Linked DNA regions of Homo sapiens: regions 1, 2, 3 and 5 are each linked to region 4. Evidence: promoter capture Hi-C in 16 types of primary human blood cells and fetal thymus (Javierre and others, 2016). All regions are on one chromosome and are shown on one strand. The core of a region is centred on a gene start or on the middle of the fragment in contact, and the rest is flanking DNA. Distances in the headings are between cores, read along the strand shown. Region 1 has its middle 8.1 kb from the start of LINC00954. Region 2 overlaps LINC00954 (long intergenic non-protein coding RNA 954). Region 3 has its middle 49 kb from the start of LINC00954. Region 4 holds the start of NT5C1B (5'-nucleotidase, cytosolic IB). Region 5 has its middle 25 kb from the start of LINC00954.

What was found. Contacts are between HindIII fragments. The CHiCAGO score rates a contact against its expected background, and 5 or more counts as called.
Region 1: a contact is called between a fragment that was not itself captured here and the fragment with the promoter of NT5C1B in region 4, in 8 of 17 cell types (total CD8 T cells, activated CD4 T cells, naive CD4 T cells and 5 more). The highest score is 14.4, in total CD8 T cells.
Region 2: a fragment that was not itself captured here is called in contact with the fragment with the promoter of NT5C1B in region 4 in 1 of 17 cell types (naive CD8 T cells); the score reaches 6.1 in naive CD8 T cells.
Region 3: a contact is called between a fragment that was not itself captured here and the fragment with the promoter of NT5C1B in region 4, in 2 of 17 cell types (activated CD4 T cells and total CD8 T cells). The highest score is 5.6, in activated CD4 T cells.
Region 5: a contact is called between a fragment that was not itself captured here and the fragment with the promoter of NT5C1B in region 4, in 9 of 17 cell types (activated CD4 T cells, naive CD8 T cells, monocytes and 6 more). The highest score is 12.8, in activated CD4 T cells.

The regions. Positions count from the first base shown.
Region 1 is chr2:19,858,310-19,863,280 of GRCh38, reverse strand. No RefSeq gene overlaps it. Among named protein-coding and RNA genes, the nearest start is that of LINC00954, 8.1 kb to the left of the region's middle. RefSeq lists an enhancer at 564-1,064. The HindIII fragment of the contact is 2,179 bases long and covers 2,372-4,550 here.
Region 2 is chr2:19,879,219-19,883,890 of GRCh38, reverse strand. It overlaps LINC00954 (long intergenic non-protein coding RNA 954), which reads right to left. Exons shown (of 10, transcript NR_033875.1): 7 at 3,691-4,655; 8 at 1,156-1,276; 9 at 243-333. Among named protein-coding and RNA genes, the nearest start is that of LINC00954, 13 kb to the right of the region's middle. The HindIII fragment of the contact is 3,224 bases long and covers 414-3,637 here.
Region 3 is chr2:19,817,492-19,822,643 of GRCh38, reverse strand. No RefSeq gene overlaps it. Among named protein-coding and RNA genes, the nearest start is that of LINC00954, 49 kb to the left of the region's middle. The HindIII fragment of the contact is 2,764 bases long and covers 15-2,778 here.
Region 4 is chr2:18,586,561-18,591,332 of GRCh38, reverse strand. NT5C1B (5'-nucleotidase, cytosolic IB) reads left to right here and starts at 1,764. Exons shown (of 9, transcript NM_033253.4): 1 at 1,764-1,894; 2 at 3,741-3,830. The coding sequence starts at 1,865. It overlaps NT5C1B-RDH14 (NT5C1B-RDH14 readthrough), which reads left to right and starts at 1,764. Exons shown (of 11, transcript NM_001199104.2): 1 at 1,764-1,894; 2 at 3,741-3,830; 3 at 4,160-4,339. The coding sequence starts at 1,865. All of the region lies in intron 2 of LOC105373456 (a long non-coding RNA gene), which reads right to left. The HindIII fragment of the contact is 3,581 bases long and covers 897-4,477 here.
Region 5 is chr2:19,841,793-19,846,671 of GRCh38, reverse strand. No RefSeq gene overlaps it. Among named protein-coding and RNA genes, the nearest start is that of LINC00954, 25 kb to the left of the region's middle. The HindIII fragment of the contact is 3,629 bases long and covers 1,456-4,879 here.

The DNA of each region.
Region 1 (4,971 bases), core at 2,212-4,711, 1.3 Mb before region 4:
TAATCCCTATGTGTCAGGGGACGGACCTGGTGGGAAGTGATTGGATCAGGGGGGCGGTTCCCCCCTGCTGTTTGTTCTCGTGATAGTGAGTTCTCACGAGATCTGATGGTTTAAAAGTGTTTGGCAGTTCCCCCCTCTCTCCCTCTCACCTGCGACCATGTGAGGTGTGCCTGCTTCCCTTTCGCCTTCCACCATGATTGTAAGTTTCCTGAGGCCTCCCAGCCATGCGGCAACTGTGAGTCAATTAAATCTATTTTACTTACAAATTACCCAGTCTCGGGCAGTTCTTTATAGCTGTGTGAAAACAGACTTAATACAGTAGAGGTCTTGGCTGTGTAGTCTTGGAGGCTCACCTGTTTAAGGAGTCTCCAGACCTCTTGGTGTCCGTTATTACTTTTGTGCCCTAGCTCACTCCCTGGGGCTTGGGAGTGCTGGTAACAAGGCCCCGTGCCTTATCGAGCAGGGATGGAAGAGCCTCTGATGTCTAGTCACGTGAGCGTTGCTGACAGCCGTGGAAAAGCCACTGCCCAGGGGGCTTGCACCTCGCAGATGCAGGAGGTCCTCACTGGACCATCTGAATGTGCTGGGAGGCAGGTGGAAGAGACCATCAGCCACCATCCCCGGGCCATCCGTGCCACAGGTGAGTCACCTGAGGTCACACAGGACAATGGCTTGCTCAGGGTTACTCGGCTGGTTGGGGCTGAGGTCTCCTCTGCCTCAGTTTCACCCCAGAAAAGGTGCTGATCACAGGCTAAGTCATGATACCCCCAAATTCGCATGTTGATGTTCTAAACCCCAGTACCTCAGAATGTGATGAAATAAGGAAATAAAGAATTTCAAATAAGGAAATACAGTGGTTGAAGATGTAGTTAGTTAAGGCAAAGTCATAGTGAAGTCAGGTGGGCCCCTAATCCAACGTGACAGGTGTCCTTGGAAAGCGGGGAGACTGGACACGGCAGGAGGCAAGAGGCCGTGCACGTCTGCTGTTTAAGCTGCTCCGTCTGTGTGGCATTGTTGCGGCAGCCCCAGCAAGCAAATCCAGTGCCCACGCCTGGGGGGCTGCTCCCGCCCCTGGACTCTGCCCTCCTGAGCCTCCCACTGTGACCCCCAGCTTTCCTTTGTCTCCTTACTTGGCCCTCTGGCTGAACAACTCCTCTTTCTCTCCCCACTGCTTCCAAGACTCGTATTGTGCTCTGTGTTCCAAAATGACCCAGCCTGCATCACTTCCCAAACAGATCTATTTTTTCAGAAAGTTGAATTCTAGCAGAAGGCAGCAGGAAAACAGCCTGATCAAGCTGATTCACACTAAGGGGTGAGTGACTAACACCTGGGTAGTGTGATTCCAGGGAACAGCCTCACTTAGCTCTTCTAGGACACTTACATGTTCAAAGAGGAGTTTGTTAATTCCTAAAGAGGCCCTTTTGCCAAATGGAGATTATTTTGTAATGTGAATGTTTGTCCCCATTACAAGTCACTCAGTTAACAAGTTAGCATGTTTTCTTTCTGTGTCTCTGCTGCTGACTCAGGGGCCCAGGACTGGCTCTGGCTTCTGCACAGGCAGGTGTCCTCTTTGGAGGCCACCCCCACCATCCCCACTGACAGTGGTAGCCTGAGCCCACTTTCCCACTTCCCTCCTCAGTAGGAAGGACCAAGATGGGAGCCCTGCCCAGCACTCCCTGCCTCTTCTCCCCATGCCCCCATGGCTCCACTCTGGTTTTGTAAGAGTGGGCTTGCTCATTCGCTGTGATAGGGCTGCTTTTAGCCTCCCTGACCAGACAGGTTGCCCCTGGGGCTGAATATGTGGCCTCCTGGCAGTGGGGCTCTGTGGAAGTGCTGAGGCCCAGGAAATGTGGCACGGGGCACTACACGTCTGGCTTTAATGAGCTATGGCCTTCAGCTGTGGAAGGCTGGTGGTGTGGGGAACTGAAGAGTTCTGGGAGGAGGTTGGGGGCGAGGGGCTGCCTTCCAGGCAGGGTGCAGGAGCCTTGGAGAAGGTGCTAGAAGCTGGGGTTCCTGTGCCAAGGGCTGGGAAGGCAGGCAGAGTCCTGGTTGGTGGAGTCATGGATAGGGGCTGGGGTGGGTGTGGGGCTGGATGGTTTGTCCTGCTCCCATGCCAGCCTCCCTCTGAGTTTGTGGGCCCCTCCTGAAGTCTTGGTGTGCCTGGACCTGGGTTAAGCCACACTGCAGGGAGGTACATGTGTACAAAGTGATCTTTCTTCCAGAAGAACACAGTCTACGAAGGCATTTCTGCAAACTTGTGAGATGCCTGTGCACACCTTGTGGTGGCCCTGAACTGATGGCTGAGGTGTGCTATAGAAATTAGAGAAGGGAGGAAGAAGTTCATTGCCGGTTGAGCAGTTCAGGGAAAGCTTCCTGGAGGAGGCGGAGTTTGAGCAGGGCCAGTGGGGATGGAGGGTTTGTCCTGGAGGAAGGAGAAGGAGGGCAGTCAATGCAGGGAAATAACACACCTGACATGTACTCATGTTAGGGGCCACGTCCGCACCTCTCAACTCCCTTGCTCATCTCCAGGGCTTGCATCTGACTGAACTTCCCACTCTTCCCTCTCTACTCCAAGCCTCTCTGGCCCCCCACCTTTGCCCATGCCCCCATTCTCTCCAGCTTGTATGTGTATCTCACCCCCGCATCTTGTTAGCTCTGTATGCTGAAATCCTGCTAGCGTGTCCGGACACTTCTTGTTGGTTTCACCTTCCTCCATTTCTCTCAACCTTCCTCTCTGCACCAGAATCCGATCCATCTTCGCCTCACTTGGCAATTATAATCATTCAACCTCCCCCAAACCCTTGTTCATAGCCCAGCACACATCTGCAGGGCCCACAGTTTGCTGGGCATTGGGGGTGCACATTTTCTGCCTGCAGAAGTCCCAGGACTGGCAAGGTTCATACTGAGATGCCAGCCTGGGGACTCTGCCAAGGCCTTGGCAAACTTGTCTCAGCATCTCCCAGGCATTTGCCCCTTCCTGCCAGGAACAGGGCAGAGGCGGAGGTGACTGTTTCCCAAGAGCAATGGGCAAATCCATCTTGCTTGGGTTTATTCTCGTCATTTCCTGAAGTATTAGGTCACCCAGGTTGTTAGTGAGGACCTTATTTGGAGAGCCTGGCTTCCTGGTATGAAGTGGAGAACCTAGGAGGGGCAGGCCCTCTGGTCTTAGTGGCTACGCCATCAGAAACACAATCGTGTTTCTCTTTCACCGCAAGCACTGGGAATTGAAGTATGTACGGAAATACAATTCATAAATTGAGGGACTTTATTTTCACTGTTCCCAGGGTTTAATTTCCAGAAACAAAATGTCAGTGTTATGGCTGAAGTTCTCTTAGTTTTAGGAAACACATCATAACCCAGAATTGTTTATGCATAGTTCATGTATTATATGACAAGAACGGTTTTGAGAGTCATCAAGGGTCAGAGGACTGCGGTTACACGGCAACAAGGCGATCTGAGTGTGGTGAGTGTGGTGAGTGTGGGGATCCAAACCTCGATCTTACGTCTCCCCTCCCAGGAAAATCCCAGGGAGTGGTTGTTCTTCTAGAAGCCTGCAGCTGCGGGTAACCGGTTACCAGGGAGTGCGTGGACCTGTTGCTCACAGAGAGCCTGTGTGTGTGTGTGCATGTGAGCATGTACTTATGCGTGTGAGCATGTGTGCCTATGTGTATGTGCGTGTGCATGCACACTTGTGGTTAGTGTGAGAAAGAACACTGGCCGAGGCAGGAGAAATGGGCTACAGTCCTGCCCACCCACTTGTTACCATTGTGGCCGCTCCCCTGCGTCTGCAGTGTGGGTGCACGGATCCCTTCCTTAGAGGTCACCCAGCATTTCATGACATCTGTGTATTAACAGCAGAAGTGAAGGGGCTCTCGGGCAGCCTTGGGGATTCTGGAAATGCCCACTGGAGGAGCTGAGGCTTGCTGGACACTGGGCGTGTGGTCCTTGGATCTTTCCCAGTGGCGCCATGGGCCACGGATTCCGGCGGGGCTCAGGATCCAGTGGCTCTCCTACCTCCTTTTCCTTCACGTGGGTTGTTGGGCCCCTCCTGCATGCAGCGCAGCCAGGTGGTGAAGGTGAGAGCCGCTGCTGTCGCTGCTCCTGGCCTGTGGGAGAAAAGTCCCTCCAAGGTCACCTTTGTAGCTTGTTCATGAGCAGAGCATCAATTGGATCTAATATTTTTACAAGATGCCCCCCAAATAAAGATCAGCATTTGGCTCAGTTCATTTCAGCAGAGGGCTCAGCTTTGTCTGCTGCCCTGTGTATGGAGGGATAGACAGGAAGCGCCACTTCTAGAGATAGCTCTGGCTGCTGCCTCTCAGGAATCCTGGCCTGGGCGGCCTGACGGGGCTACCAGCTTCCCTCCTGAGGATCTGTTGGTGGCTCACACCAGGTAGGTTTAGGGGTGAGGGCTGGGCGCACCTGGCCAGGGCCTCTCCGCAAGTGCAGAGCCCTTGGTCCATCTCGTGCCTCCACTGGGATCCCCGTGTCTCCGCTTCTGCCCTGTTTCAAACTCCAAACAAGATTTTCAGATGGCAGAAACTGAAGCTTGGAGGAGAACAACTTAGATCAAGTTGACTTAGTGTTTGCTCTCAGCCAACGAAGCCCTGAGGCTGCCTTCCTCAGGGAGCTTTGCCCACATTTCTGAAGAGTGTGCAGGGCACGTTTCTGGAGGACAGAGCCTGCATTTCCAGACAATGGCTTTCAGAGGATGCTCTCAGGTCTCCCGTGTGCCCTGCCTGTGGTTAAGTGTCTTTCTGCTACATAAACAGCTCAGAGACTCAACTCTCCCGAGACCGAGACCGGAGAGGAGCTCTTACAGTGGTAAGAATCCACCTTGCCTCTGGCAAAGTTGCTCTGGATGAGGTTGATTGAGCTGCATGCCTCCATTCCTTCCAGAACAATGTCCCTCCTCACCTACATCCATGCCCAGCCTTTGGAGCCAGGGGCCCCACAGGTGCTGGTTGCTGG
Region 2 (4,672 bases), core at 776-3,275, 1.3 Mb before region 4:
CTGGAGGAAAGGCCTCTTCAAGAGTTCCTCAGGCTGAGATGTAGGCATGACATGCAGAGTGCTTGCTGTTCAGGGACTTCTGCAGGAGGGTGCCATCTGGTCAGGACTTGAGGCAGCTTTCAGAAGGGTGAGTTTGTTTGGAGGGATGGAGGGGGAAAGTGCAGAGAACTTTATGGGCAGGACCTTTGGGGCAGAACTTCTCAGTGTTGCTACTGGACACGTGGCTAGGGGCCTGCTCTTACCTCCTTCTCTCTCCTCTGGATAGTACTGGCCACCACAATGCCCGTCAGGGTCCAAGTGTAGGCAGGATTGGGTCAGGTGGTACAGATACACCTGAGAATGGAAGTGGGTGAATAGCAGAAGACTGAGCATTACAGCAGGACAAACCTTAAGGAGCCAAGGATCTGGAAGCTTCCACAGCATCTCGAGCTCGGTGTGGGCAGAGGCCATTCTGTTCTAGCAGGAACAGAAGTTCCTGTCTCAGGGCCTTGGGAAACCAAGAGTGACCCAACAACAATTCCTTCCCACCCACACTTTTTCCTAAGACAAAAGCCTTATGGGACCTCTTCCCAACTGGCTTTAGTAAGAGGGCAGGCTTTCTTCAAGGAGACAAGAGGAGGAGAGGAGGAGTTAAAGTGTGAGAATGGGATGGGGAAGATAATGAGCTTCCTCCTGCATCTAGGCATGAAATGGGATTATTCTGAGGGTGTTGATCAGGAATGAGTCAGTTTCGTTTCCTCTTAGGAAGTCTACTTATTGAATGCTTTATCAATACTTCTAAAGTCTTCAGTGACTTTAACGTTAATGCTCCATTTTGCAGAAGGTGGTAAGGTTCAAAAAGGAGACATGACCTGTTTAGGTCACAGAGTCAACAACTGTCTAAGCAGAGGATCAGCTAGGGTCCCACTCATGCTAGGCTGCCCTGTCCCCACCCTCCATGCTTAATCTGGTTACCAGTTGCCATCTGTCAGACTTGACTTCTAAACGTTGATGCCAAGTCACCAAGCAGGACATGTCATCCAGATCTCTTTATAAAAGCCTAGGAAGTACTTGGGACCTGGGGCTCCCAGGGACTTTGCTCAGTGTCCCCATACTGGCCATATAAACAGGAATCTAGGTTCCTATTTAGCCCTTTCTGGTTCTCTGAGATCTCACCTCTTTGAATCTGGGTGCCACAAACTTCACCAGCTTCTTGACCAATGAGGGGTATTGGACCTTCTCACCCTGGGAGACAGGGTAAAAGTCTACCTCTAGCAGGTTATTCTCTTTTTTGCAGCTGTCAGGAAGAATTTGGAGACAAACAAGGAGTGAGGCACTCTGGAGAAACCTTGTGTCCATTCCAGTAGTTATCTGAGGACTGGTGAGGACTGGCTGACCCTTTCTTATACATGAGGAAGTATGAGTAGGACTGGGGCGGGGGCTTGAGGCTGTTAGAAGTCAGGGGAAGTTCCTAACTGAGAAGCTGCACAGAAGTGATGGAAGTCTCATTTGGTAGACTCAGATCTATTGGGAGATTTGGTCCTGTATTAGTCCCTTCTCACACTGCTATAAAGAAATACCCGAGACTGGGTAATTTATAAAGGAAAGAAGTTTAATGGACTCACAGTTCTGCATGGCTGTGGAGGCCTCAGGGAACTTACAATCATGGCAGAAGGCAAAGGAGAAGCAGGCACCTCCTTCACAGGGTGGCAGGATGGAGTGAGTGCAAGCAGGGGACATGTCAGACACTTATAAAACCATCAGATCTCGTGAGAGTCACTATCATGAGAACAGCTCCGGGGAAACTGCCCCCATACCTCCACCCTTGGTCCTGCCCTTGACAAGTGGGGATTGTGGGGATAATTCAAGATGAGATTTTGGGTGGGGACACAGCCTAACCATATCAGGTCCTCACTTTGGGGATCTTGCTTTAGCATGTAAGATATTCTTACAGAATCTTGGGCTATATCTGGTAGGACTGGGGTTCTGGTTCTGCCCTCTCAGCTGCTAGCTGAGGATATGTACCTATTTATTATGTTCCACTGGGGGCTGCCATCAAATTCTGGTGACTCTGACACCCAACACTTGTCCAGGAGTAATTCTGCTGAGGCATCTGCAAAGCTCATCAGTTCTACCTCAAAGAGTGTTGACTATGGCTGATTCACAATGGCCATCTCCCCATGGTGAAACTCAATGAACGACTCATCTTAAGAGAGGAAGGGCTTGGTGAACTCATGGACAACTTTCTTCTTCTGCCCTTTGTCCCCCAAAGTATACTCCAGAACACCCTTACCTTGAGCTACTCTTGCCTGGATCTCCAGTGTCTGTCTGCTCTCTCTGAGGCCCTGCTGAATGAGAGAATGTCAAGCTGAGGGCACCCAGGCAGAAATACTCAAAGTTCTCCCTCTGTTCCCCAGCCACTCCTTGACCTCGGACCTGGGACTGCCATACCACCATGCCATCTCCTGGTGGCAGGACAGCTTTCTTCTTCCACCTGTCCTTGTGCCTGTCCTCTTGGGCCAATGTTTCTTTAACTGAGTAGTAGCAGAGCAGCATCAGCCTAGGACAAGCATGGAGGCAAGAGCAGGCTCACTGGTTTGTAGAACTGCAGAGCAAGAAAGGACTTGAAGGAACTCTGGTTCATGGACAAGACAAGGCAAACAGACTCTGTACCAGGGAGGCAAAGAGACTTCAACGTCTCAACTTAGGAATGACAGCATTGGGGCTTGAGGCTGGAAGAGATAGCCTACTATCTGTTCTGCTGGTCTTCTCCATTGGTTGGTGGGCTATGTGCATGGTGGATCATGATTTAGTTATGCAATGATTTGTTTCTAGCAACACTGCTTAGTCTATCAAAGAAGAAGGTCTGTCAGTATTACTCCAATTTACATCATACCTCCAATATAATAAGTATTAGGTAAGGAAGTAAAATAGGACCTAAAAAATGAAAAAGAGAACATGGAAACTGAAGCATTTTGGGGCACTGTCACTGATGTTTTGAGTTCCTCCTGCTGCAAACTATACACTGGCATTCTCTTCCCTAGTCAGCTGGAATTTCCTGAGGACAGGGGTGGGGACAACAGTGAGATGAAGCTCAGGGGCACAGCTGACTTCCATTCATACAGTGGCCATCTCACCTGTAGTCTGGATATCTTGTAATTGTGGGCCAGCCCTTCATAGCAAGGGTTCCTTCTCATACATGATTCCCTTTTCATATATAATATAGTCACCTTCAAACTACATAACCCAAGATTTTAGAGCATATGGAGAACATGGGTGATACGGTTTGGCTGTGTCTCCACCCAAATGTCATCTTGAATTGTAGCTCTCACAATTCCCACATGTTGTAGAAGGAACCCAGTGGGAGGTAATTGAATCATGGGGGCAGGTCTTTCCTGTGCTTTTCTTGTGATAGTGAATAAGTCTCATGAGATCTGATGGTTTTTTAAAGGGGAGTTTCCCTGCACAAGTCTTCTCTTCTCATCTGCTGCCATGTGAGACATGCCTTTCACCTTCTGACATGATCATGAGGCCTCCCCAGCCATGTGGAACTGTCAGTCCATTAACCCTTTTTCTTTTGTAAATTGCCCAGTCTCAGGTATGTCTTTATCAGCAGTGTGAAAATGGAACAATACCACAGGACTGAGAAGAAAAAGCTTAGATGGTATGCTAAGGCCTGGCAGGAGCAGGTGGCCCTTTTGCCTTACTCACCCTCACTGAGGTACCACGGCTGGTGACGTCAAGTCAGAAGAAGGTTTGGTTGCTGCTAGACTCTGTTGGCTTGCAGGTGCAATCCTTCAGTGTGGCCTTGCACATGTCAATGGAAGGGTCTGTGGCCATCATGGAAGAGATGGCCACAGTCCCACTAGGGAAACACACTAGGAACACAACCATAGTTCTCACAACCATCCTGTTTCCAACCATATTTTGATCAAAGTCTGTTCTCTATTTTACCTGGCAGTCCTTGGACGAGGCTGGGCTAAGCCTTTATGCTGCTCCTTGAGGTAGGACTTGGCTCCTGACCCCAGGGCTTTTCACAAGTTACCTCAGACACACCCATTTAAAATGCATTTTTAGGCCATCAAGTAGGTTGTGGATAAATATTGGAATTTGTTCATTTTTATATGTATTATTTGAGGGGCTGAAGGCAAAACCTGGATACTATCTGAGGCATGGTGATCAGGTTGGGGGCCCTGCCTTCAAGAAAGTCAGCTCAGAAGGGAAAATAAAGACAGTCAAGGACAAGTAACTAGTGCAAGGCAGAAAATGGTTATGGCTCTGATTATGAGAGTTCAAAAGGAAAAAGTTGGGGGGAGAGGGAGGAACCAGAAAGGAGATCCAGTGGTTGGCAGGCTATGTGGTTATAGGAGAAACAGCATTTGAAATGGGCTGTGAAGCCTGAGACTTCACATAGGAGGCGAGGGGGGTTAGTTTTCCCATAGAAGGTATGGATGTGACACACAGCAGTGTGAGCTGGTCTCGATCATCTCCCCAGGGAGTACAGACCAGTCAGCCTGGAAAGATCTCACCAAGGCAGATGCACAAGGCCTTCTTCATGCAGGATGGGGGCGGTGCTGTGGTTCTAGACTGGGATCAGCAGTGGGCCTGAAGACAGGGTTGGGAGGTGGGATGAAGCAGCATGGGGACCCAGAAGCCCAGCTTCTCACCAGTGAGGTCTGAAAAGGGATAAATG
Region 3 (5,152 bases), core at 147-2,646, 1.2 Mb before region 4:
AATTTCCCCAAGCTTTCCAGATATCTCAATACCAGGAGGCAAAATGTTTTCTCAATTAAAAAAATTGTGCTCTACAAAGAAGGGCCAATTCAAAGAATCGATGACTTCAAATATATGAATCATAACATGCAATTTGAAGAAAATTGCAGGCAATTTTATGGCAAAGTCTAAAATGATAAGATCAGCTTGAAAAAATTACAATCTTCGAAAAATTTGGTGATACAATATTAGAGGGTGATATGTCTAGGAAACAGAATTAAATATGCAAATCCATATCAAACATAAATTATTCTCTTTACATTATTTTTTAATGTTCAGATGATCAACATAGAGATTAAATTTTTAAAAAAAATTTCAATCTGCATTTCTTTTATTAAGAATGAAGTTGGGCATTTTTCATATTGCTTAACTATATTTCCTTGTCAGTGATTATTTATTTATATTCTTTCAGTTTTTCTGTTGAGTAGAAAGTCCTTTTTCTTCACAATTTCCAAAATCTCTGTCTCTTTTCCTAGTTGGAAAAGAAAGGATAATTTTATTTTATTTTATGGGTTTAAAACTTTTTTTTCTAACTTTTATTTTAGATTCAGGGGGTACGTGTGCAGGTTTGTTACCTGGGTATATTGAGTCATGCTGAGGTTTGGGGTGTGAATGATCCAGCCACCCACATGCTGAGCAGAGAGCCCAACAGTTTTTCAACCTTTGCCCCCTCCCTTGCTCCCACCTCTAGTAGTCCCCAGTATCTATTGTTGACATCTTTACAACATATTTTTTTGACTTGATGTACACAAGTCTATATTATAGTTTTAGAAGAAATTTTATTTACTTTTTTTTTTTTTGAGATGGAGTCTCGCTGTGTCACCCAGGCTGGAGTACAATGGCGCGATCTCAGCTCACTGCAATCTCCACCTGCCGGGGTTCAAGCCATTCTTCTGCCTCAGCTTCCTGAGTAGCAGGGATTACAGGCGCCCGCCACCATGCCCCGCTAATTTTTGTATTTTTAGTAGAGACAGAGTTTCACCATGTTGGCCAGGCTGGTCTTGAACTCCTGACCTCAAGTGATCCGCCCTCCTCGGCCTCCCAAAGTGCTGGGATTACAGGCGTGAGCCACTGCACCTGGCCAGAAATTTTATTTTTGAAATTAGTTTTTGAATAGAATAATTTTATGGTCTATCAATAAAATAATCAATTTGCAAGGCAACACATAAATCTTAAGAAAATTATTTAGTTTTTCTTACTGTTAGATCCTCCTTCCACTCTCAAAAGTGTCCCAATTTGAATGGTATATTATATGGTTGTGCTTGCATTGTGTTTGCCATGAACAGAATTCATGAATATTCTGGTGTTCCACCTTTCAGGTGGATGGTAGTTTTGTACTTCTCTGCTCTGCTTGTAATCAGTTATGGCCATATGACATACTTGGACCAGTGAAAGGTGAGCAGAAGTAATGTGTGGCATCTTTAAGAGCCAATGCATGCTTACCCTCCCCTTTCTGCTGCAGTGATCATGGAAGCATATGTCAAATAGAAGTTTATGTCAGGTTGCAACCTCTAATGGTGATGGCCTGGAGCATAGCTCCTAGCAATGCTGCATTAGAAATAAATAAGGGAGTGTTGTAAATAAATTCACACATTGATCTTCGTGTTGTTAAACCACTGAGATATTGGGATTATTTATTATGTAGCAAAACTTCACCTACCCTCATTGATAAAACTTAAAAAATTAAAAAAAAATTTTTTTTTTTGAGACAGGATTTCACTTTTGTTGGCCAGGCTGGAGTGCAAAGGCGCTATCTCGGCGCTATCTTGTCTCACTATAACCTCTGCCTTCTGGGCACAAGCAGTTCTCCTGCCTCAGCCTCCTGAGTAGCTGGAACTACAGGAGTGTGCCACCACAACTAGCTAACCCAGCTAATTTTTTTGTAGAAACAGGGTTTTGTCACATTGCCCAGGCTGGTCTTGAACTCTTGAGCTCAAACCATCTGCCTGCCTTGGCCTCTCAAAGTGCTGGGGTTACAGGCAATCGTGCCCGGCCTCATAACACTTTAAAATAAGTTAATCTATTAATTAATAAATTTAGACCTCAACTGGTCTCAAACCTGGGGCAGTTTATAAACAGCAAGATACAATAAAATATAGGGGGTTGGGCAAAGGGAAAATAGGGGTATGAAAATAAAAATGTTGGAGGTAAGATTAATCCTCAAACTGCAATCCTGTGTATGCATTCCCAGCGATGGGCCACCAATTAGTCTATAAACTTCTTAGCAGCAAAGGCAAATAGGGAAATCTGAGCAGTAGCAGCACCCATAGGATAATAACAAACCAGATTCTTAGGAAAAATCTTAGACAACAGTGGGGCAATGTGTCAAGAACTGGATGGCTTTCCTTCCAAAACTCAATCGGAGTGTCTCCCAATGGCTCTTTCTCACACCAGTTCCCAGTGCAAGCAGGGGCCACAGTGACAATATCCAAGTCAGGAAAAAAGAATGGGAGGTGGTGGTCAAAGGATACAGGCTGGACAAACAGCTTTGACGACCTGGCCGAATTTAACATGAACATTCCAGAATCTATAGCATGAGTGGGTGTCTTTTAGTCTATCCTTCCGTAAATGAGTGAATGAATGAATGAATGAATGAATGAATAAATAAATAAATAAATAAATAAATAAATATTTCCTGATGCGGCCTCTTTTAACAAAATTGTCTAGGAAGGAATTTGGTTATATTCCCTGGCAAGGTCCTGGGGCTGAATCAGACCTGGCTCCTACCCACCAGAAGCTTCCCCTCCAATGACAGGGCAAGATACATAGACAAACACCCATAGCATGGAATGAATTATGGGAAGAAAGCCCTGTCCATGCAGTATGCCCTGGGGGCCCTGAGAAGTCATGATGGCTCTCATGAGTGGTAACTGAGTCATTCCCCAAAAGGGACATGATTGGCCCTGGAGGTCTGTGTCTTGGCAGCTATTTAAGGTGTCTGAGTGCTTGGCATTGCTGTCTGTGAACAGCTTCATATCCAAGGACCATCTAAAAGGCCTGAGGGAAGAACATGCTGTGTTGAATAAGCCACAATGGCAATGAAGCCAGCTGTGCCTAGGCAGCCACAGTGTCCTCAGTGAGCTCGAGGGAGGAACATCAGCCAGGGCTGGATGAGGCCTATGAACTGATGACCTCAAGACTGGAATGTTTGCAAGAGTCTATTTTTGTTTCAGATAAAACCAGAAACAATGAGCCACTTGGGGAGCCAGCCTCCTGGAGATTGATGGTGAGGGGGCGAGCTGAAGCTCACTGGGGAAGTATGTGTGGCTCTCCGCTCACCCATATATTTCCCTGCAGAGCAAAGGCTGGGTGATGACTAGAACAGGGAAATCCAGTTCAGGCCAAGGCAGGGTCTACAGAGGCCGGGTGCTCTTTCACAAACACATTCAGTGTCTCTATCCATCCCTTCATCTATGTATGCCCCTCCACCCCGGAGCTTCACCTAGTACGCAGCTGGTGTCTGGTCCTGTTCTTGGCTAAGAGGGTAAGACAGGAGAAGGTATAGGCCTTGTTCTCAGGAGAAGACCCCCCAGGCAGAACACCACCAAGGAAAGCACCTGACCCAAGTGAGAAGCCATTTGGAATTCAGGGTCCTGGAACTTCATTCATTGCTAACCCACCCTAATCAAGGAAAAACAATGTTTTCCCTTTAGAAGGCTTTTCTTCATCAATCCAAGAGCTGTTGATGGAGAAATCTGTGTGCCTGGCTCTGCACTTAGCAGGGTGTGTGGGTGGGGAGTGAAAGGGAGCACCTCTCCAGCTAAAGACTCTTGCATCCAGTTCTCAGAAGAGAGTTAGAGCACTAATTCTGGAGGTGGAAACCCAGACACCATTAATCACCCGAGGACTGCCTGTCCTCCATCACCTCCCCTCCACTGTGACACAAACCAGGACTTTTAAGGAGCTTGCTGAGAGCCACTCAGCTAATCAGAGGCAGATCTCCCAGACCTGTATTTCCCCCCTCCCGCCGACACCAGTGAAGAGCAATGGTTGCTCCTTCCTTCATCAAATAGTCCAGAAATGAAGGTGGTGGGGAGAGGTCCTTCACCCTCAGGCCATTCCCTAGCCCAGGCTCCCTTTCCTTCTTTGACCCTCCTGGCCTCATGGATCCCTGATCCTATACTCAACACCTATTAAGTAACCTTCACACCTGGAGGTTTCTAAAGCTCCCAGTGAGGAAGTCTGGACTTTGCTGGGGAAATCACACCTCCCTCTGCTGTCAATGCTAGGTCTGTCTTCACCCCAAGAAGAAGTGGGTTGGGCTCTGATGTCCCTGGCTGATGGCCACATTGCTGTGTGTTTCATGCTCATGTTCCCCTCTGAGTCTGTCTGAAGACAGAACAGAATCAGGACATGAGGAGACTCGGCTTCCAGCGGGACTTGCTGGCACCATTCATAGTGTCTGGGGAAGCATGTCAGTGATTTGGCAGGGCTGGGAACTGTGGGAGCCCCTCCATGAATGCGTCACTGCATGGGCCATTCCTGACTGCAAGGAGATGGTTTGGGAATCAGATGTGTTTAGTTTGCAGGGTTTTCAGATCTGACATCCAGAAAGACACCAGCTCAGAACCTGGTCCAGAGTGAGATGCAAGAGGGCCTGTTACAATGTTCAGATCCTGACTTCAAGGTGCTTTTATCCAGGATACCTAAAGTGTTTCCCTCATTGGTTAGAAATGATCAGTAGAAAGACTTACAGTGGGTTACTCAAGGTACTATTTGTAGTACCAACTTGGTATTAAGTGAGGTTTGTGTGCTATAATCTTTAACTGGTCTCATGTGTACCTTGTCTCCCCATGAAGAAACCACACTGGGTTGCCTTAAAACTCTATTTTGGGCCTGGCACTGTGGCTCACGCCTGTAATCCCAGCACTTTGGGAGGCTGAGGAGGGCGGATCACGAGGTCAGGAGATCGAGACCATCCTGGCTAACACGGTGAAACCCCGTCTCTACTAAAAATACAAAAAATTAGCCAGGCGTGGTGGCAGGCACCTATAGTCCCAGCTACTCAGGAGGCTGAAGCAGAAGAATGGCATGAACCTGGGAGGAGGAGCTTGCAGTGAGCTGAGATCGCGCCACTGCACTCCATTCAGCCTGGGCGACAGAAAGAGACTCC
Region 4 (4,772 bases), core at 515-3,014:
AGTTACGAGGATATCTGACTGTTCAAAAGAATCTGGGACCTCCTCCCTTCTCTCTTGCTCCTGCTCTTGTCGTGTTACACATTTGCTCCTTCTTTGCCTTCTGTCATGATTGGGAAGCTTCCTGAGGCCTCGCCAGAAGCACATGCCAGCACTATGCTTCCTGTATAGTCTGCAGAACTGTGAGTCACATAAACCTCTGACTCAGGTCAGTTCATGCTTTTGCCTAGGCTTCCAGACTGTGGAGGAAGGGACTCCAGCCCACAGCCCTAGATTTGGGATGTCAGGCTTCCCTAAGTGAAGTCCTACCCATGAAACCTATAACAGAAGCCTCTGCTCTCTCCCTCGAAGGAGTGCTAAGAAGCCATAATGAGTTTATAATCCTGAATAGTAGAAATAAAACACCTAATTACAATGAGATGAAATTCACATTAGCTGCTCTGGCCCCAAACACAGCATACTAAGAAAATAAAGATGCTCTTGGTACTTAGGGGTGTGATTTTAATAGAAAAGGTAAGGTTCTCTGAAGTTACTCTGAAACGTATAGCACTTACAACTTTGATTGTCTACATAACTTATACAAATATTACACAATAACATCATAACCATGCAAAAACAAATGACCCCTGTACAAATTTTGGGTAGAATGCTGGGGGTTGGGTGTACAGTGGGGAGTAGGGGAGAGATGAAATAACTTAAACCCAGGCACTCTTACCTACAGCCTGAATGTTTTACTAACTAAAAGACTCCTTGGATAACTTAAATTAAAACCATCAACAACTTCCGATATTCAACCTTAGCTATCAACTTGTCCCATGAAAACAGGCTGGAAACCTGCCTCAGTCCTTGATGATTTCACCAGCTCAGGTTGGCATGGCACATGTCTCCTATCTAAAGCTTGGGTGAAGATAAAAGGAGAAAACTAAAATGGAGAACATGTTTAGATTCTGTAAACCAGAGTTAGGGGCTACTTTTTACAAATATCAATTCTATTTGTAACTGTATGTTTCCTGTTACTTGCCAAAATGAATCACAAACTCATTTGTGGACCCAATCATTTATCCATGTTCACTCTCCCAGACTTTGGGGGGCTTTCCTCAGATCTGGAAACTATTTTTGACAGCTGAGATTTTGTTCTAGACATGGAGTTTAGACTTGAGTTTGAGTTTAGCTTTAGTGTTTAAAGGGTTAAGGATGGGGCAGCCCAGGGTTAAGGGTTAAGGATGGGGCAGCAAAGGTAACATTCTACACTGAGTCTAGCCATGGGGAAGGGGCTTTGACAGTGTCTTCCTCAACAGGTTTTGCCATTGAAAGAAACATGAGACATTAAAGCTAAACTCAAACTCAAGTCTAAACTCCATGTCTGGAACAAAATCCCAGCTGTCAAAAATAGTCTCTAGATCTGAGAAAAGCCCTCCAAAGTCTGTCTGGCAGAATGAACATGGATAAATGATTGGATCCACAAATGACTTTGCCATTCATTTTGGCAGTACCAGGAAACAGACAGTCACAAATGGGATTAATATAATGAATGGCAGAGAAATGCTTAAAAAGATTTAAAAAGGAAGTGGTAATATTGATATTGCTACATATTGAACATTTGAACAATGTTTAGACATCAATTTCTGAAAACAAAGACAATGGCTATGAGCAGATACACTCAAAATGAAGAAACATTTATTTTTTGTTTTTTAAGAAAAGGTTAATCACATATTCATAGAGTCAGTTTGTTACTATGGAATCACATATGATGTCATAAATTTGACATTCTAAATGCAAAGCTAGACTGAGCAAGGGAAGTGACAGGAAATGGAGCTGGGGAGACAAAAATGTGGATAACAACAAAAGAATTTCAACAGGTAAAAAAATGAGTCAAACATCTCTCAAACAGAAAAAGGTGAGTGAACCGAGTGTCTTAGAATCTTGCCATGGGGCTGAAGAAATGTGGATATCAGTCCATCATTTGCCTCTGCAAAGGCTCTGCAATGATCAAATAATTTCAGATAATGGCTTCAGGTAGAGGAAAAGAGAAGGGAGAGAATAAAGGCAATGGAAAGAGTACAGAAAAGGGAAGAAGGAGAAATTTAAAAGAAATTAAGACAGCAAAGAAAGAGATTAAAAAACGTGTAGTATATAAATGATTCCAATAAGTCAGTATTCATTTAGCATATACTCATATGTTAGTAGTAAAAGGTAAAAACAGTGGCTGTCTTTGAAGAATGCATGGCCTAGTAGGAAAGACAATAGACAAAGGACAACTCATTGCTCCATAAAAGTATGTACAAAAGACACAAGGAACACAGGGCAATATTTCACTCTGGGAACTTCCCCCAGGTCACACTGAGCTGGGTTTCGAAGAACACAGGAGAGAAGAGGAGACCATAAGGAAATAAGGCTGGTGTATGCAGGCAAATACAAGTCACTTGGTATTAGTAGAACATAGTGATAAAGTATAGAGTGAAGGGCATGCAAGTAGCAGGTACACAGGAAAACATCATGAGGCTCCTGGTCAAACCAAGTGAAGAAAGTGTTTATCCAGGAATGAAGCATTACTAGATTTACATCTTGTAAATATTACTCTAAATAAATACGGTGGACAGATCTAGAAGTGGAGAGGATTTAAGGCCATGAAACCTGTTTGAAAGGCTATATTCTGAAAATGTAGTCCCAGGATGGTCAGAGACCTGGAACAAGGCAATGATAATAGAGATAGAAAAAAGGAACTGGATTCAAAATATCATTTGGAATTAGAAGTAAGAGGTATTATGGTGACTGCTATGTATGTGTATAAGGTGAGTGAGGGTTGATGAAAAGATTTTAAAATTAGTTCAGGAGTCATACAGCTATGCCATTCTCTCATGCAACTAACATTCTCATGCAACTAACATTGATGAGATTTTTCCTGCATGCAAGACACAGAGCATAAACGGATGAATATAGACTGCTCTAGTGGATCTTGGTCTAACTTAGAAGTTGTGCTCCTTAAACATATAAATAACACTAATCTTGATCACATTGCAGCTACTTACTTAGCATGAAACAGTTCAAATAATATTCCAATAAGTATCTCCTCCAAATGAAAATGAAAACATAAATATTTGAGTAGAGTTCCATAAAGTGAGTCATCTTCTTGTGCTCTTTTACTTGGTTTTCCCTATCTGTTGTTAATTTGTTGGTAAGAAATCCCTTTCCACTCTAGATCTATGAGTAATTAAATGATAGGAACAGAAGACATGACTTTCAATAAATTTGTATGAGATTAAGGTCCTTATATTTAGAAATCAAACTAATATTGGTGAGGCTAGAGCCACAAAAAGTTTGAGCTGTAGTGATGATGAAAACAAGAAAAAATTGAATTCTAAATGGCAAGGAAAAGTAAGTTCCATAAGTAGCAATCTTCAGAGTAATAGAAAAAAAAACAAACTTATTCTACATAAACAACTTCACAATTCTCTAATATTTCCCATGTTATCAGTCTTTAAACAATAAATGCTTTATATCTCAAATCTATGAACCAACAAATTTCTATATTAAAACTTGTTTATATAATTCTTTTTAATAAAATATGTGTTACCTTTTACTCATGCTTGTTAGAACAGGGGAAACTAAGGTCTAGAGTTTATACCTTTTTATATTGGCAAATAAATAAATTTTGTGTTTTCTTTATCCTTTTATTCTGAAAGCCAAAGTTCCTAATGCCCTGAGATTAAAAATTAATAAACATTCTTTGTTTCCTTGTCAAGAATGAGCCTGGAATGAGGTCCTCAAAAGAGAGTCTAGAAGCAGAAAAAAGAAAGGAATCTGACAAAACAGGAGTTCGTCTGAGCAATCAGGTGAGCTGATCTCTGTAGCAGAGGTGAGGAAATTAAGGAGCAGAAAGCATAATGGAAAATGTTAGGGGGCAGGGAGTTCTGGGAGAGAAGACCAAGCTGTTGAGAATTGTATTAAGGCGTCCCTAATGTCCTCATGAGAAGGTTAAGGAACTAGGAAAGGTTGGGCCCTGCCTTCCCCTCCATCCATACCCTAGTGTTCACTTCGAATGTGTGGAACCACAGCAGGCTCCTCTGCTCAGCCTACACAGGGGGGAGACTGGTCTTTGTTCAAATCAGGGAGGGGAGGGGGTCTGGCCATGGCATTGACCACTTTCTGCACAATCTTTCAGATGAGGCGTGCAGTCAATCCGAATCACTCGCTGAGATGTTGCCCCTTCCAGGGTCACTCGTCGTGTAGACGCTGCCTTTGTGCAGCTGAGGGAACAGCCCTTGGCCCCTGCCACACAATACGTATTTATATTCACATGTGCCTGTTGTGGGAGCAGGGCCAGCAGATCACCATGATGAGGGTGAGCAGAGATCACACTACCGATTCTGGAGGGGAACCACAGACAACCTGGGTGAGGGGAAGAATATGGCAAATAGAAACTCTTTTACTTTGCTGTTCCGGGGGGTCCTTCATTCTTGTTTCTCCTAAAAGAAAAGCTTGAGGGCTCCATTCCTTTTCAGCAGCTGCCTTAGAGTCCCCCTGCAACCTCAGTGGGGCACCAGTTGCCCTCACCTTTACAGTCTGGTAAAAAATGGTGGATATATTGTTTCAGCATCTGTTAACAGGCTTATCCTCGAGGGAAGAAGTGAGGAAAAGGGAGGAACAATGGTGAACCATACTAATATCCACATAAGAGGAGTCACAGTGAAAAAATATGTTTGCATCTTGGTTTTGGATGCTCTTTCAAGTGGACCCCCACATAGATGCTCCAAACAGAAGTGAGGACTAGACCA
Region 5 (4,879 bases), core at 2,021-4,520, 1.3 Mb before region 4:
AATAAGAATTCTAGTCCTAGATAAGTAGGTGTTAACTCCTGGCTACAGTGGAGTTTGAATTGACCTCAGGACTACGTGTCCTGAAAGCCTGTGCTCTCAGTTGCTGGACTAGCCTGGCTTCATGGCCCAGCTCTGCACTGCTTTGAACAGGACTGCCTTCTCCTCTCTGAGCCTCTGCTTCCCATTTGGAAACTCATATTGGACCACACCCTTTTCAGAGCCATCATCCATGAATCTCACCCCTGAGTTTTTCTGAGAGTGAATGTAGCTGGAAGGTGTTTAGGGAGGCAGCAAGCCCTTTCCGACTGGACAGCAGCATATTCTGGAGCTTCTTGCCTGGGAAACAATCAGTTGCTGGGTTTGACTCTTTCTGCTGTCACCATCAGCATGTTTCCCAATCAGGAAAAGAACTTCAGCTTCCCTGTTGGCACTGCGCCACCTCCCTAAGCAAGGTGTCTCTGGGGAATGCCTTGGTTGGCTTACCCTTTGGTGTTCACAGTGTTGGGTATAGACTGAGCCCCACAGAGCCCTAGGAATCCTCTGCCAGCGAGGCTGTGTCCCCAGGACAGAGCTGATGTGCTGATTTGCAGCCTGTGAGTGGAATTGTGCTAGGCTGGATATGTGGGGTGCAGACACTCGTGGATGGGACAGAAGATATACTCAGGCAGGTCTCTGCCAGAACTCAGGAAATATGGCCTCTCATCAGCTCATAGAAAAGAATATTCTTATGAAGATCCTTTGGTGGAAAATACATTTTGGTGCTAGATTCCAGTGGGTTTATGCTTTTGCTGTCTTTCAGTGTGTGTAGCAAGAGCCTGTGCACAGATTCAACATCTAATTTACAAGGAGTTTGGAAGTCCAAGATGTTCTAGCTGTAGGCAGAGACTGAGCTCTCTGGATGTGCCTCTCCAGCATGCGGGGACCATTGCCTCTGTGTGTGTATGTGTGTGTGTGTGTGTGTGTGTGTGTGTGAGCACATGTGTGCCTGTGTGGGGAGATGACACCCATAGGGGGCTGGTTGTGTGTGGTCCTGCCCATATTCTTATCTATACCCTTGGGCACACATGTGTCCATCACACCTGGGTCCAGTGCCAAGACTTCCGTTCGGACTTTGGAGCCATGTGTGACCACATCTGTGCCATGTGTGATCCTCAGTAGAGCTTTCTTCTGGTTCAGTGGGGAGATTGTAACCCAGCAGGAACAGCGCCCTGGGGGTGGCTGCACAAGTGCTTCTGCTCTGGGGCCTCCCTCCTGGCCCCCTGCCAGCCCCAGTATGGAGGGGAAGGGGCTTTGAAAAGCTTCTCGCCTGTTAGCTGTCCAATATGCTTGAAAGGATACCAGCCTAATGAGTGAAGTTTTAGTAAATCAAGACCATGTGGTCAGCTCCCCCTTGAGATGCTCCTAGTTTAAGAAATTGGTGGGTGGGAAACATTTTTGGCAATCACCCCTGAAGCTTCTCTTATATCCTCTTTCTTTTTGCTCTTCAACCCCCAAATCCGAAAGAATCATATGGTTTATTTTTAAAACAGAAACAGCCCTGGATTGCCCGGTCTCCAGGGGCAAGAACATCTCTTCCCATCATTCAGGTCTAACCTGGGGACAGAAGGCAGCCCTGGTGTGAGGGACAGAGGCTTGGGGTCAGGGGTGGTGGAAGACGGGGCATCTTTTGTGCTCATAGTGGGCCAGATGACATGGGGAATCCCAGCGTTTGCCTGCAATGCCTTGGAAAGAGCAAGCTGGAGCCCAGAGAGGTGTGGGAATTGGCTCAAGGTCATCCAAGGAGGCAGCACCAGGGTTGGCTCCTTCGCCCATGCCTCCTGCTTCCAATTTGGGGTTCTTTCTATTGAGAAGTCTCAGATTTGAACGTTGGGGTGGGGTTTGAAGAAGAAAAATCTTAGAGAAAGAAGAGGAAAGACTTTAGATTATAGAAATGAGCAAGGGAATTCCGGGATGATGGGAGAGAGGAAAGTATGAAGGAGCAGGGGAATAAGCTCATCAAGAGTGAGAGAATTGTGTGATCAGAGCCCACAGGGCATGGCTGCAATGCAGTGAGTCAGGAGTGTTTGGATCAAGCCTGCCCCACATTGTAATTCCATAGAATGGCTGTTTCTGAGGGTAGGAAGCCTGCAGGGGTCTAAGGCCAGTGTTCCATGGCAGTTTATATTGCAGGGAGCCTTGGGGGCTGGCACTCAGGTTGGGGGAAATTGGTGTTGTCAGACAGATCTTGCCTTTGCTCCCCATCCAGGAATACACTTGAACTTGACTGTGGATTGGGCAGAACTGGCAGTGTGAACTTTCACACATTCCTGACCCTTGCTAAACTGTTCATGGCTCTCCAGCAAAGGCATGGGTGAGCAGGGGGAGCACCCTGGTCCCCTGGGCTTGAGTCTGAGCCCCACTACCTTCTCACCCAGTGACCACTGGCACATGTGTTCCCTCCCCCAGGCCTTCCTGTCCTCATCAGTGGGTGGTCTCAGCACTTCTTGCCCTTCTACCCATGGCGGGCCCCCTTGTTTGTGTGTTTAGCTCGCTCTTCTCTGTTCTTCTGGCAATAGTGCTCCCTTCTTCTCCATGGATGGCCTCTCCTCCATGTGAATTGAGTGCTCCTCATGGAGGCTGCCAGCTGTACTCACTCTCCTCCCAGCCCTGCTCATGATCAGAATGAGGTCAGTGGTCTCATCCCACTCCTCTGGCCACAGTCATTTTATAAGAGAATGTCAGGAAAGAACATGACCAAAATTGTTCCTGAACATATAAGACACCCACTGGTGAAATCTTCACTAAGAAATAAGAGAGAGAGACTTGGAGGGGTGCTGAGTCCATGTGCAGTGCATGGAAGCTAAGAGCCTCCATTGTGCTGTTGTTAATGTGACCAGATGTCAACCCATGGGCTGGTGGGGACTGAGAGGGTATTGAAATACAATAGGGTTGCATCTACTTGGTAACTTTTGCTCTCCAGGGAGAGAAATCCCAGCACAAACCAGGGTAAGCAAAAAGAGAACTTATCAACTCACTTCTCTTAAAAGGCAGAGGTTGGGCTGGTTTCAGGTGGCACTTCACTCAGTCAATGTCACCAGGGTCTAGCCTCTCTCTCGTCTCTCCCTCTTCCTCACCTTCAACTCCACTTCCTCTGGATTGACTCCATTTGGAGGCCAGATCCGTCTCTCAGGGTACTAAATGGCAGCCTTAGCTCCCAACCTGATATTCCCTCAGATTCAAGTCCAGCAGGAAATATTAATAGCAGCGGTCTCTTTCCCAGAAAATTCTGCCAGTGTCTCATTGCCTCTCATTATTTCTGACTGAGTCCCAAATTAATTGTTGTGACTGGGGAGCTGTGATAATCTAGTTGGTTTTTAGGCTTACATTATAGGCTCCAGCCCTAATTATGGTGAGAAGCTCCACCAAAACCTAGGATCTAAGAGTGGAGGAGAGAATACATTTATCAGCAGAAGGGTGAGTAGATCCTCAGAGGCAAAGGCCACAGGAGTCTCTCTCAGAGACCTTTAGCACTCAGCAAGCTGCCCACACCTCAGAGCCACTTTCACATTCTCTGTTCATCGTCATGGACACTGTAACTGCTATGAGGTGATTCAACACTTGGTTCCAGTGGGAAAAGGAATGACCATTAAAGAATGCCAAAAACTATTGCTGGAGATAGATGTATAGAGAAACTGGGTGGGTTAAGAAAATGAGCGTTTGAAGTTTTGGACAAATTAGAAGAAGGAATGTTGAATTCAGCAGGGACTCACTCCAATGGTGTAAATGAATTTACCAGGAGTTCTATAAGAAAACACCAGGCATCTCCTGAAACCATTTTAACAGCTTCTCTAATGGTTCAAAATGGCTCCCCAAATGAGAGAAAACTAATGGAAGTTGGAAAAACAGTTACCTGTGATTCAAGAGAAAGCCTGGATCTGGTACAAACATTTGAATTTCCTTGACTCTATAGTTCATAGACATCTAAGAGTGCATCGCTTATGGAAGTTAAGGGCCCACCCTTCTTTCTGCCTTTTCTGCTGCAGAAGCAGTCTTGGTATCACACAGGAACGTAGGAGACTGTGATTTTTGCATGTCCAGCACCTCGTTTTTCTACTTCAACAAGCAGCACCCCAGCTCTCCTTTGGGCGAAATCCCCTTCCCCCATGCTCATTTCATGCAGTTCAGGTGGGACCAGCAACCGACCCCCACCCACCTGTAAGCTGCTCCAGAGTGAACGTGTGACCCAGGGCTGGCCGATCTGCTTATTCCATCTCCCTGGTCACAGTAATTGGTTCAAGAATGGGCAGATGGCTCAAGTCAGTGAATCAGAATCAATCATGGAACTTCTATTGGAGCTATGAGGAAAGGGCCATGAGGGTGCTAAGCTGGTAGGATGTTCACTGAGAGCCACTGGTGGAAGCATTGCTACTTCAGACAGAGCCTGAGAATGAAGGCGACACAGAGACAAGCAGCGCCAAAGTTTGGTGAGAGATACGGTCCTGTCCACAGCTTCTGAGGGCCTGAATCAGCCATGCCTGAATTTAGACCTATCCCTAGAATTTTCAGATACAGTGAGTTCTGTGTGTGGGTTTCTCCTTCTCCTCCCTTTCCCCTCCCCTCCCCTCCCTCCTTCCCTTCCTTTCCTTTCCCTTCCCTTTCCTTCCCTTCCCTTCCCTTCCTTCTTTTTCCTCTTACCCACTCTTATTCTTCTTTCCTTCCCTCCTTTTTCCTCTTCTTCTCCCTTTTTTTCTTCTTCCTCCTCCTCCTTCAGCCAGTTTGATTCATTCATTTAATAGATATTCACTGAGTGACCATTATGTGTACCCTTCAGTGTTTTTTCCAGACCATCAAATGTGACTTGGAAGTAATACAACATTTGTTATTTATGAAGACTTTTTTC